Linked DNA regions of Homo sapiens: region 1 is linked to region 2. Evidence: promoter capture Hi-C in 16 types of primary human blood cells and fetal thymus (Javierre and others, 2016). All regions are on one chromosome and are shown on one strand. The core of a region is centred on a gene start or on the middle of the fragment in contact, and the rest is flanking DNA. Distances in the headings are between cores, read along the strand shown.

Evidence for each region. The method cuts DNA at HindIII sites, captures the fragments that hold promoters and counts their contacts. A CHiCAGO score of 5 or more calls a contact.
Region 1: a fragment that was not itself captured here is called in contact with the fragment with the promoter of CNOT1 in region 2 in 1 of 17 cell types (fetal thymus); the score reaches 5.4 in fetal thymus.

What each region holds. Positions count from the first base shown.
Region 1 is chr16:57,181,130-57,187,823 of GRCh38, forward strand. PSME3IP1 (proteasome activator subunit 3 interacting protein 1) reads right to left here and starts at 4,910. Exons shown (of 7, transcript NM_024946.4): 1 at 4,692-4,910. It overlaps RSPRY1 (ring finger and SPRY domain containing 1), which reads left to right and starts at 5,200. Exons shown (of 15, transcript NM_133368.3): 1 at 5,200-5,322. RefSeq lists enhancers at 4,535-4,584, 5,896-6,540 and a silencer at 5,285-5,494. The HindIII fragment of the contact is 1,176 bases long and covers 819-1,994 here.
Region 2 is chr16:58,626,387-58,633,281 of GRCh38, forward strand. It overlaps CNOT1 (CCR4-NOT transcription complex subunit 1), which reads right to left and starts at 3,440. Exons shown (of 49, transcript NM_016284.5): 1 at 3,342-3,440. RefSeq lists enhancers at 2,517-3,193, 3,194-3,869, 3,318-3,527, 3,818-4,307. The HindIII fragment of the contact is 12,291 bases long and covers 2,438-6,895 here.

The DNA of each region.
Region 1 (6,694 bases), core at 157-2,656, 1.4 Mb before region 2:
ATCTTGAATTCACCTATACACACTAGAAGAAAGATAACTAATTTAAATATCGGTTCCCTTAGCTGATCCTCATTCACATGCACCTCTCTGAATATAAATACTTCCCTCACTATGCATGAATGATTGTATTCATTGTATTTTTTACATATTGTGACTCCTAAATACAAACCAACAACTTCATCTGGGGCTCACAGGAAGAAAAACAGCAGTTTTTTCCAAAGCCGAAATAAAACTTGCCTGAGGATATAGAGAAAAAAAAAACCCAAACCAAACCAAAGCATTTTTGCTATTCTCTCACTCAACAATCAACACAGTATAATTCTGTGAGGGATATGTCCCCACACACCAAGCAACCAACCAATTCTGTAGCAGACACCAACCAGCTGGGTGTCCTCTAATTCAGTTCAATTCTGACACTACCTACCTGGATGGAGACCGCGTCAGATCCCATAGGTTGAGGGGTGAGTCCCACAAGACTAGCCTCCATTTTAGATACCAACCACAAGAATCAGGTTGTTTTACCTGTAGTTCTAACCAACTGGCTATTAATCAGGGTTCCCATGACCCCCTCCTTAGGTTCTATTAATTTGCTAGACCAATTCACAGAACTTAGAGGAACTTAGAGGAACACTTTACTTACATATACTGGTTTATTATAAAAGCATATTACAAAGGATACAGATGAAGCAATGCATAGGGCAAGGCATGTGGGAAGGGCACAGAGCTTCCATGCACTCTCTGGGGCACCATCATCCAGGAACCTCTCATGTCCACCTATCCAGAAGCTCCCCAATCCCAGTCTTTTGGATTTTTATGGAAGCTTCATTACTTAGACATGACTAATTAAACCAGTGACGCTGGTGGTCATCAGCTCGTCTGCCTTCTCCTCTCCCCAGAGGTTGGACATTGGTTGAAGGTCCCAACCCTCTAATCCTGCCTGGGTCTTTCAAGTGACCAGCCCCCATGCTAAAGTTACTTAGGGGCTGCCAGCCATCAGTCAGCTCCTTAGCATATAAAAAGACACTAATCATTTTGGAGATTTCAAGGATTATAGGAGTCATATGCCACAGGAGACAGGGATGAAGGCCAAATATGTATTTTACAATATCACACTGGCCATGTCAGAGTTCTGCAACACTGGTATTCCTACAATTAACATGCTGCCTCCCTGAGATTTCAAGGGTAGCTTTGCTTGTAAGCTATTTTGTCATCTAGGCTCGCTTCAGAACCTAACCCACACCTCAAGTCATACTCCATCCTCCCTCCCCCCACCCTATATAACTCCACTTCAAGACCAAATTAAAAACAAAATAAAACAAAAAAACGCAGTCCCAGTTACTCAGGAGGCTGAGACTGGAGGACTGCTTGAGCCTAGGAGTTCAAGGCCAGCCCGGGCAACATAAGGAGATACCCATTTCCCTTAAAAAAAAAAAAAAAAAAAAAAAAACTTTGCATTACAATAACCAGACAAGGCCAACTAAGATTTTTTTTTTTTTTTTTTTTGGCGCAGTGGCTCATGCCTGTAACCCTAGCACTCTGGGAGACTGAGGCAGGTGGATCACCTGAGGTCAGAAGTTCGAGACCAGCCTGACCAACATGGTGAAACTCCGTCTCTACTAAAAATATGAAAATTAGCCAGGCGTAGTAGCACATGCCTGTAATCCCAGCTACTCGGGAGGCTGAGGAAGGAGAGTTGCTTGAACCCGGGAGGCGGAGGTTGTAGTGAGCCGAGATCGCGCCACTGCACTCCAGCCTGCGCGAAGTGGGCGAGACTCCATCTCAAAGAAAAAAGATTTTTGAAGCAAATATTTACCGAGAACCTATTATGTGCAAGATACAATGCTATGTACTAAACAGGCAACTGAGGAACTTACACTCATTCAGTAAAAGACATAAGGTTGGCACACAGCAATTTAAGGAAAAGTAAAACTAGGTTACAGGCCATAAGAGGCACTAAGCAGTTCAGAAAGGAAGACTAGAATAAGCATTGGGGAAGCTTAATTTTCATAATGGCTGTGACGATGCACAGTGAAAAGTGGTGGAAATTTTAGGTATATGAAGAATAACCATCTTTAACTTGGAAATCACACAAATTTCACATTCCAAATTTCAGAATACAGGGGGATTTTCATTTCTTGAAATAGTGGGCTAGGTAATTGAAACCAATTCTCCACCTCTGCACTAAATATGCTGGAAATTTGTCAAAAATAATTTTTTTTTTGAGATAGGGTCTCGCTCTGTCACACAGACTAGAGTGCAGTGGCATGATCTCAGCTCATTGCAACCTCCACCTCCCAGGTTCAAGCGATTCTCCTACCTCTGCCTCCCGAATAGCTGGGATTGCAGGTGCCCGCCACCATGACTGGCTAATTTTTGTATTTTTAGTAGAGACAGGGTTTCACCATGTTGGCCAGGCTGGTCTCAAACTCCTGACCTCAAGTGATCTGCCCACCTCGACCTACCAAAGTGCTGGGATTACAAGTGTAAGCTACCACGCCCAGCCAAAAATATTAATTCTTAAATAGAAAAGCTAACAAGATAGTAAAGAATTTGGACACAATCTAGAAGGTGAAAACCAGAAATTAAGCCCAATATTCAAAATGGATTTCATCCTGAGGACTTCTCTGACCTAAAAGCTAAAGTTTCAGTGCCTTTATGAGATAACAGAAACAAGTTCAAGCCAGGAGCCCATCCAGGGAGTGGAGTCTGACAACTACCTCCCTCTCCATCTTAATCTTGTGCCCAAAAGAACTACAGCTTCAAAGTAAAGGTGAACTGGGAAGTAAAACAGCAGGAATAATGGACAACAGAAACAGACTCCCCCAAAGGGAATTCAGACAGTGGAATTAAACATAGAGATTATAAAAACAACTATACTTTCCATGTTTAAAGAAATAAAATTAAGCCTCAAAATAGTAAGAAATAAAAAACTGTAAAAGTGTCACAAACCAAACAGAACTTCAGAAACTAAAAATTGCAATATATGATTTAAGATTTCAGAGGCCGAGTTTAATAACAATGGAAATAACTTGAGAATAAATTATCCAGAATGTACTACGAAAGAACAGAGTAAAAGACATAGAGAAAAGAGTGAAAAGGTTTAGTTAAATCGATAAAAAAAAAAAGAGAAACAATGGGAAGAAGCAATATATGCATATAAAATGGCTGAGAATTTTACAGAATTAATGAAAGACACTAATCCACAGATTCAAGAAGTCTAATAAATACCAAACAAATTGAACAAAAACAAACCCATAGTTCCATAGAGCATAGTGGAAATACAGAAAACCAAACACAAAACAATCTTTTTTTTAAACTTGTCGATACTTGATTTTAGACAAAACAATCTTAACAACATATTCTATAGTAAAGAGTGAAACATAATATTTAAGAATGAAGACAAAGTATGTTCAAAAGGTGACTAATGGTGAACACGTTGAAAATGCTTAATTTAGCTGCCATAAAGGCATAATTACACTATGACTGACCCTGTACGTACATCGCACTTGTTACTTGATTTACCACATACGTGGTTTTCAATAGCTAAAGCAGCAGCTTGATTCTAACCAAGCATCACCATTCTTGGAAGATGAAAGTGAAGACTGATAATCAACTAAATGGTTTTGACACAATTATTCCTTTCTTATATCATGAAGCACTTCCCCACAGGGTAAGGACATGAAGACTTCAGTTGAGAAAGATAATCGGGCAGCCTCTACTTTCAGATCCTTACAAATTGTTCGCAGGTCATCTAACTAAAAGACTGTAAAAGCTGCTGTCGGCTCAATACTTTGTATCAAAAAGGAGTCTACCCACTGATTCCCTTCAAATATTTCAGAAGGGTGCCTTCCATTTTATGGTGTCCCTGTGGACACATGAATACACCAAATAACTGATGAATCGACAAATCTTATGTCACAGGTGGTAGGCAAGAGGTCATCGGGAATTCCGATCACCAGGCTCGCATCTGGCTTCTTGGGTCCCACTCCTGAACTAACCAGTCGGGCTACCCGAGCGTGCGGGAGTCTGAGAAACTGCATTTTAAAAGGGCCCCAGGAGATCTTGTTTTCCACTAACATTAAAGAACCACGACTACGAACAAACAGGTCTCCCCCTTTCCTCTGTGTGGACTGACAGTCACAAGGACCACCAACTCTCAAGCATGACGCTTCAACTCTCTTTGTTTCTTAAGTTTTCTGCAAAACGGGCCAGCTGGCTTGTTTTCCGTAATAGAAAATTCGCTTGGCACAGCAACTGGTACATGGCACACAATAAATGTGCTTCCCATCCTGCACTGCCATTCTGGGATTCAACCATTTCCAACCAGACGCCGCACATCCGAGTGAGTAACCTGGACCTGTTCCAAGACCTCTGGAACGGAGCCTGCTACTCACTTGAAACCTGGGTGGCCCTACCTAGCAGAAAATTGGGGAAACCCCATTAAACGCCCGGCAGTGTTGGGCCCGCCTGAAAGGGTCCTCGCCGCGACCCAGATGCCTTCCCGCGGGCACCCTCAGCTCCCCTCAGGCTGGGCCCGCAAGCCCCAGGCTTCGGCTACTCCGGACAAGGAGCGGGTGCGCGGACTGAGAACAGGCCTGGCCCTAACCCTAACAGCAGCCGCAGCTCATCTCTTCCGTAAGGAAGCTGGAACCCAGGTGTCGCCGCCAGGCCAGGACCGAGGCCGCACTCACCTACCGGCGCGCGGGAGGCGAGACGACCTCACCTCGGCGGCGCCCACCCCAAACCGCCACCGCAGAGCCGCTCGCTCTTAAAAAAGAAAAAAAAATGAAAGGAAGAAAGAAAGAAACAGAGGAAGGAATGAATGAAAGAAAGAAAAAAAAAAAGAAAATAGCCTTTGCTTTTGTATTTCTTTTGACCCTTCAGGGCTTCCTGTTCCTCACCGCCACAATAGAGTCCCGCCCCACTTCCGGCGACGTAACCCAATCCGCGGAGCTCTTCCTCCCCGGGAGCCCGATGGAAATCCGGTACCCTGAAAACGAGCCGGAGAGACTTGATTGGGCCATTCACGCCTCAGGATGAGGACTGGCCAGTCTGCGCCTGGAGGGCGGGCCGGTCCCGCTGATCACGTGACACGATTTTTGAAAGGTGATTGGCTGTCAAGGAGAGGGCTTGCCACCGAGGAAGGGGCGTTTCCTAGGGGACTGAGGGAGGGCTGGGGCGGTACGAAGCGGGGGTGGGCTCTGCGCGTAATGGCAGCGCCGTGGCCTCGCGTCCATCTTTGCCGTTCTCTCGGACCTGTCACAAAGGAGTCGCGCCGCCGCCGCCGCCCCCTCCCTCCGGTGGGCCCGGGAGGTAGAGAAAGTCAGTGCCACAGCCCGACCGCGCTGCTCTGAGCCCTGGGCACGCGGAACGGGAGGGAGTCTGAGGGTTGGGGACGTCTGTGAGGGAGGGGAACAGCCGCTCGAGCCTGGGGCGGGCGGACCGGACTGGGGCCGGGGTAGGCTCTGGAAAGGGCCCGGGAGAGAGGTGGCGTTGGTCAGAACCTGAGAAACAGCCGAGAGGTTTTCCACCGAGGCCCGCGCTTGAGGGATCTGAAGAGGTTCCTAGAAGAGGGTGTTCCCTCTTTCGGGGGTCCTCACCAGAAGAGGTTCTTGGGGGTCGCCCTTCTGAGGAGGCTGCGGCTAACAGGGCCCAGGTGAGAGGCAGCTATCTATCTCCTGGGGTGGCTCCTGGTACCGATGGGGTCCTGACCTACTCAGGGGTGCCCGGGATAGAAAGGGTAGATGAAGGGACGCTTTAGGAGGGTTCTTTTTGTGGAGTTTACGGTCTAGGTGGCACGGATGAGGCATACCTCCCCGGGGAGATTTAGAAACGCCTTGGGATAGAGAGAGAATGGGGCTAGGAAGCAGGAGCTAGAACTAGCGGAATGTCCTACTACGGAAGCCGGAGCTGAAAATTGGGTAAGGACCTTGGGGAGAGGGGATTTCTGGGCGGTGATGGGAAGAAGACACCTCCATCCACAGGAAAGCCAGAGTGGGGAGTAGTGAAAGGGAAACGGGAATTATTCCCTCTCTCTGTAGATCGACCAGGTGTCCCAGACACAGGATCCAACTGCTTCCGGGCTTATTGCCCGAGTGGGGTGGGGAGAGTCTATCCCACCAACACCCCTTGCGTGAGTCCAAATTAGGCATTTGTCTCTCCTGCTGCCTCACTTTCCCCGTCTTTGGGGAGGGAAACCGACTGAGACCGAGGCGGTCGGCTGAGACTCCGAGGTCCTGTCTTGTATAGTTCTCTGAGAGAGGTTGCTCCCCCTGGAGTGTTGTACTTTGAACTTTGAAGGGTTAGAAGTGTCTGTTATCGACTGAGTAGAATCCCGCAGTTTTCCAGGCCCTTTACCTACCATCTGTTCTTGCTTAGTGGAGTGACTTAACCTCCTTAAGTCTCTACTGTAAAATAACCAGCGCAGTATGTGAAAGTACAAATTACAAGCTGCGTGAACGTAAGTTAGTGTGATTCTACCACCAAACGGGTTGCTGTTGAGGAATAAAAGTGAAGGCACTTTCTAAAATGTAAAGTAGTATGTAGAGGTAAGGGGTGGGATTAATACAGTCGTTGTCTGTCACCTGCGGAGTGCTGGGAGCCATATTGTACTGAAAGCTTCAAGGTTCACAGCTTCTTAGGTCATATTAAGATCTAAACCCATGGTTTCAAACCCTGCTTAGATGGGGATGGT
Region 2 (6,895 bases), core at 2,190-4,689:
ACAGAGCGAGACTGCGTCTCAAAAAAAAAAAAAAAAAAAAAAAAAGATATACCAAGTTCATAAAATACAGCATTTCAAAATGGCAGACTACTAGGCTGGGCACGGTCACTCATGCCTGTAATCCCAGCACTTTGGGAGGCCGACGCGGGTGGATCACGAGGTCAAGAGTTCGAGACCAGCCTGACCAACATAGTGAAACCCCGTCTCTACCAAAAATACAAAAATTAGCTGGGTGCAGTGGTGCGCGCCTGTAATCCCAGCTACTTGGGAGGCTGGGGCAGGAGAATCGCTTGAACCCAGGAGGCGGAGGTTGTAGTGAGCTGAGATCGCACCACTGCATTCCAGCCTGGGCAACAGGGTGAGACTCCGTCTCAAAAAAAAAAAGGCAGACTACTATTTTTGTTAATGTGGGACAAAATACTCATAACAAATATTTTGCAAAATTTTTTTTTAATTTAATTTTCTTTTTTGTAAAGACAGGGTCTCACCATGTTGCCCAGGCTGGTCTCTAACTCCTAGTCTCAAGCATCCTCCTCCCTCATCCTCCCAAAAAGCTAGGATACAGGCTTGAGCCACTTGCCTGGGCCAAAAAAATTAGTCCCAAAATATGACAGCACTCAATTAGAATTATTGTGGACAAATTCCATTCTCTGGTATTGGGTACCAAAGACGTGTTTGTTATTACACAGAAAGAAATAATCAAGTTCATAAATTCAAACTGGTTAAAAAGAAAGCTTCTCGGCTGGGCACCGTGGCTCACGTCTGTAATCCCAGCACTTTGGGAGGGTGAGGCGGGTGGATCATGAAGTTAAGAGTTCGAGACCATCCTGGCCAACATGGTGAAACCCTGTCTCTATTAAAATACAAAAATTAGCTGGGTGTGGTGGCGGGCACCTGTAGTCCCAGCTACTCGAGGGGCTGAGGCAGAATTGCTTGAACCCTGGAGGCAAAGGTTGCAGTGAACCGAGATTGTGTGCTGCTGCACTCCAGCCTGGTGACAGAGCGAGACTCCATCTCAAAAAAAAAAAAAAAAAAAAAGTTTCTCATAACCAGATCAGAATCTATCCTAAAACATACTCAGAAAAAGTAACATGCAAGGTAATTTGAAATCAGACTTTAAAGCATGTTTTGAAAAGATGGCAAGCATTTCCATTTGTTTTCATAGCTTTTTTTAATGACTTGACTCCAAATAAGAAGGATGTCTTATTATTTAGCTTGACAACATCTATGTTAAAGAGACTAGGATCTAAACCCCGAAGAGAAATTCAGAAACTAGAAAAAAAGAAAATGAACCCGGGGTGTTAAGCTGGGAACCAAAAAGAGCACATTTCAATTCTTTTCCACCGTAATGCCACAAAACCGTACCTTAAAACTTCTAAGATTACAATCTTAGGTAAGAAAAGGAAATATTTTCAGTTACAAATAGACATGTCTTTGCGCCTTCATTCTAGACTTTTTTTTGAGACGGAGTCTCCCCGTCCCCCAGGCTGGAGTGCAGTAGCTCTATCTCGGCTCACTGCAACCTCCGCCTCCCGGGTTCAAGCAATTCTCCTGCCTCAGCCTCCCAAGTAGCTGGGATTACAGGCACCTGCCACCACGCCCGGCTAATTTTTGTATTTTTAGTAGAGACGCGGTTGTGACATGTTGGCCAGGCTGGTCTCGAACTCCTGACCTCTGGTGATTCACCTACCTTGGCCTCCCTAAGTGCTGGGATTACAGGCGTGAGCCACCGCGCCCAGTCGATTCTAGACTTGTTTCCACTAAGACTTGGGGAACCCACACTTGTTGAAAAGGAACTAACTCTCCAAACTAGTTTTATCAACATGCTATCATTTCAGTCAAAGCACAGCTAGCCACCTAAAACCATGTATCATCAATGCATATTCTCCTTAGACAAGGTAACAATTTGCAGTATCCTAAAACATAATTATTTAAACTGTTACCACATGTCTTCTTAATAGCTAAAATACTCTGCTGCCAATCTTTAAAAGGGTAGGAATACCAACCGGGACCACAGATCACTTAAGTATTAAACCCAAGTACCTATAGAAAAAAATTGTTCTTAATCTGTTTGACCTTCCTCCTAATATTTTACTTGCCTTCCCTCATTTTTTTAATCCATGTATTCCCTATTCCTATCAAAGGGGCTGTCATAAGGAAAACGTTCGGCATTGTTTCAAACAGTATAATTATATTCACTCAATCACTGACTTAAAAAAAAAAAAAAACCCAAGTAGTCACAGGCTATCGAATTGTAGAGAAATCGGCAGGGTAGGTTAAGCATTGTTACTCAGTTTTCAGGAAGAAAACAGACTTTATTAGAGTCCTAAGAAATGTGACATTTGATTAACTTCATGGGAAAAGTTTGTCATAAAGTTTATTTTAAATACAACATTTTCAAACGCACAGATGTCAAGCATTCTTTTTTAATCTACAAAGCTTACTCCTCGGGGAGTTAGTATCTGTGAGCCCTCTTGGGTGAATTCTGCAAAGGAGGTGGTACTGAAAAAGTATTATTTGTGTTTGGCCTTAAGTACCTCTACAAGACCTGCCGTGGATCTTATCAGCCTTGAGGCCTACAAGTGCTCAGCTCACTAGCGGGACACTTGTCCTGGGTGAGCAGGACCGCCACTACTGCAGACACCGGACCGAGTAGGTGGGGGCCAACTTCAAAGAAAGTGTGAGCGCCCAGGCGCGCGAGTGGAACAAAACCTGTAGCAAGTAATAAGGAAGTGCTTGCTCCCGCCCGCCCTTCCCATCCGGGGACACCCGAAACCTGGGGGGCTTTGACAACGTGCTGGGGGCGTAAGACGGGGAGAGTGGCAGCTCCGAGTACACGGAGAAGAACTGGAAACATGCAAAAACTCCAAACACGGTCCCCCCCGCCAGAAGCCCTAGGCCTCGGAAGCCGATGCCCACTGCAACCATCAGGGAGCAGAGACAGAAACAGTAGTTAAGGAGGTCGTGGAGGTCTCAGAGGGGTGCAACCCGCGCGAAGCCAGGCCCAGCGACACGAACTGCCGCCGCTGCCGCCCCCTGAGCCTCCAGGCCCGGGACAGAGACCACCATGGGTCTCACCCCGCGCTCTACCCTCCGCTTCCTGGAGCCTTCTCGCTGGCCTCTCATCTTCAGAGCGCGAAGCCTCCGAGAGCCGTGTGGAGAAGAGTCCGCCCTCTCCCGCCTCGTCCCACTTCCCCGTCCCGGCTGCCTCTCACTCCCTAGAGCTCCGGGAAACGCTTCCAGTGGCCCCAGGTCCACCCCTGTTCCTCCTCCCACCGGCTCTCGCGTTCCCAAGCTGACACCGCCACCCTACCCTAGCCCCTGACGCCAACCCGCCTCACCTCAGGCGGCTCCGGCAGCGCTGGACACAGGAAACTCCTGGGTCCCCGACTCCGGCTCTCCTCGACCCCCTCTTCGGTTAACTCCGCTTGTTTCTCTACAAAATGGCGCCGGAGGTCGCGCGCTCACGTCGCGGCCTTTCCCCTCCCCGTTCCCATTTCATCATTCGCTGCCCGCCCGAGGAGGGATGGCCCCAGAGCCAGCCAATGGCCGCGCCCCGCCTGTGGCTTCTACCCAATCACCGACAGGTGCCCGCGGATTTAAACCAATCACACTCTATCACTTGCAGAAGTCGAGGAAGAAATCAGGCTCCTGCTAGCAACTACCAATCCGGCCTCCTACTTCGCGGACTTTGGCCAATTGCCGCTCACCAGGCCCAGGGGACCGGAGTCAGAGCCCTCGCGCCTGCGCTCGAGGCGAGGGCCAATAGGGAGAGGCTGATAACTTCGATTTGGGGCTTCACGTACTTCCCACCTGCCCTGGAGGGCTGCGACCAGTGGGGCTTGGCATTGCCTTTGAGGAACAATAAATTATGGAAGGGGCCCATAACTCCTCGCCACCCTGCGCGGGAACTACTTTGAATTACAGTGAAACAGCTTTCCTCCACTTTCCTTCCTCTTTCGAAATGTCACGGTCCAGTAGACTTCGGGGATTCCCAACCGAAACAATCCCCTCCCCTAGTGTCCCTTTGGCGGGGAACGCCAGCCAGAAAGCAAGCCAGGTTGTGACTAGAGTTGGGGCGCTTTGCATCCTGGGATGTGTAGTCGCGCTCCTCTACCCCGTTCCCATCGCAGAAGTAATGCGTCTTCGTTCGTCGCTGCGCCCTAGAAGGAGCAGTGCATGCTGGGGGTTGTAGTCACCCAGGTGGCCACCTTGTCCTCGCTTGCTTCGCTTTGGTCAAGGGAACTTTCTGTTTTAGTTCTGTCTATTGAAGAAGGGACACCTTCCAGAGACGCCTTCCAGAGACGTAGGAGACGCAAGTTCTCTTCCTGGCTTAAGTCCTAGAAGCCGTCTAAGAAAGGATACCCATGTCCTTTGCTCTCAAGAGAAAAAGCATAGAAACATATTTTGCTATGGTTTGTTTGTTAACTATGATAGTTGGTAAGATTTTATACTCACCTGTACCCAAAAGAGAAAGGATTGGGAAGGAAGTGTTGACTGGTTAGCTCTATTACCTTTTGAAATTAAGGCCGGGCGCGGTGGCTCACGCTTGTAATACCAGCTCTTTGGGAGGCTGAGGCGGGTGGATCACGACGTCAGGTGATCGAGACCATCCTGGCTAACACGGTGAAACCCCATCTCTACTAAGATACAAAAAATTAGCCGGGCGTGGTGGCGCACACCTGTAATCCCAGCTACTTAGGAGGCTGAGGCAGGAGAATCGCTTGAACCCGGGAGGCGTGGGTTGCAGTGAGCAGAGATCGCGCCACTGCACTCCAGCCTGAGCGACAGAGCAAAACTCTGTCTCAAAAAAAAAAAAAAAAAAAAAAAGGCAGGGCGCTGCGGATCACGCCTGCAATCCCAGCACTTTGGGAGGCCGAGGCGGGCGGATCACGAGGTCAGGAGATGGAGACCATTCCGGCTAACACGGTGAAACCCCGTCTCTACTAAAAATACAGAAAAATTAACCGGGCGTAGTGGCGGGCGCCTGTAGTCCCAGCTACTCGGGAGGCTGAGGCAGGAGAATGGCGTGAACCCGGGAGGCAGAGGTCGCAGTGAGCCGAGATCGCGCCGCTTGACTCCAGCCTGGGCGACTGAGCGAGACTCCGTCTCCAAAAAAAAAAAAGAAAAGAAAAAGAAATTCAAACCTATCCCTGTGCTCACCCCTGTCCTCAGACTAGGCTCAGTAGGTGGTCTTCTGGCCATCTCTCTCATATTACCTCTCGTGCCCAAAAAAATACTTAAAAAAAATTATGGTAAGAAACACATGAAATTTACCATCTTAATCATTTTTAAGTGTAGAATACAGTAGTGTTAACTATATGCATATTGTTGTACAACAGATCTCTAGAACTTTTTCATCTTGCAAAACTGAAACTACATCTGTTGTTTAACACCTTCCATTTCCCCCTCCCCCTAGTCCCTGACAATCACTATTCTTCTTTATGTTCCTGAGTTTGATTACTTTAGATACCTCATATAAGTGGAATCATGCAGTATTTGTCTTTTTGTGACTGGCCTAGTTAACTGAGCATATGTCCTAAAAACACATCTTTTTTTTTTTTTTTTTTTTTTTTTTTTTTTTTTTTTTTGAGACGGAGTTTTGCTCTTGTTGCCCAGGCTGGAGTGCAATGGTGCAATCTCAGCTCACTGCAACCTCCGGCCTCCCCAGTTCAAGCAAGACTCCTGCCTCAGCCTCCCAGGTACCTGAGATTGCAGGCACGTGCCACCACACCCAGCTAATTTTTGTATTTTTAGTAGACACAGGGTTTCACCATGTTGGTCAGGCTGGTATTGAACTCCTGACCTCAGGTAATCCACCCGCCTCAGCCTCCCAAAGTGCTGGGATTACAGGCATGAGCCACCAAGCCCAGCCTAAAAATACTTTTCGACACCTCCCTTTCCTTAGTTGGAGGCCAGGTCTTTCAGCCTACATTTACTGAGTCCCTTGTGCTTTCAAGCAACTGTGCAAGAGCAGAACTGTGCAAGAGCCAGGGACCCCACATATAGTAAGAAGAAGGATCACTTCCGTCTTGTTCACAGCTGTATTCTCAGCACCTAGTATTGTGTCTGGCACATGGTAGGCATATGTGCAAATAGGCCTTGCAGGGTACTAAAGGGAGAAATCGACTTACAACATTGTAATCTTAGAAGTAAAAGGCCCCCTAAACAGAACAAGGATGAGGAATAAGGCCCTTCCCTGCACGGTTGCTAGTAAAAGTTACCAAAACCCCTATGTAGAGCAGCATTTTGGCCGAGTTTATCAAAAGTGAAAATGCCGACCCCACTGACCCAGTAATTCCATGTCTAAGAATTTACTCCACAGATGAACATTGCAAATGTGTGCAGAGTGCATACAGATATACATGGAAGCGTTGTTTATGGGGACCCAAAAGATTGGAAACAATAATAAAATGTATGGTACTTTGGGCCAGACCCCATCTCTACTAAAAATACAAAAATTAGCCAGGTGTGGTGGCAGGCGCCTGTAATCCCAGCTATTCGGGAGGCTGAGGCAAGAGAATCACTTGAACCCGGGAGACAGAAGTTGCAGTGAGCGTAGATCGCACCACTACACTCAAGCCTGGGTGACAGAGTGAGACTGTGACTCAAAAATAAATAAATAAATAAATAAATAAATAAATATCGTACTTTTTAATGAAATATTATGAATTTTTTTTTAGACGGAGTCTCACTCTGTCACCCAGGCTGGAGTGCAGTGGCATGATCTTGGCTCACTGCAAGCTCTGCCTGCCGGGTTCGTGCCATTCTCCTGCCTCAGCCTCCCAAGTAGCTGGGACTACAGGCGCCCGCCACCACGCCTGGCTAATTTTTTGTATTTTTAGTAGAGACGGGGTTTCTCTGTGTTAGCCAGAATGGTCTCAATCTCCTGACC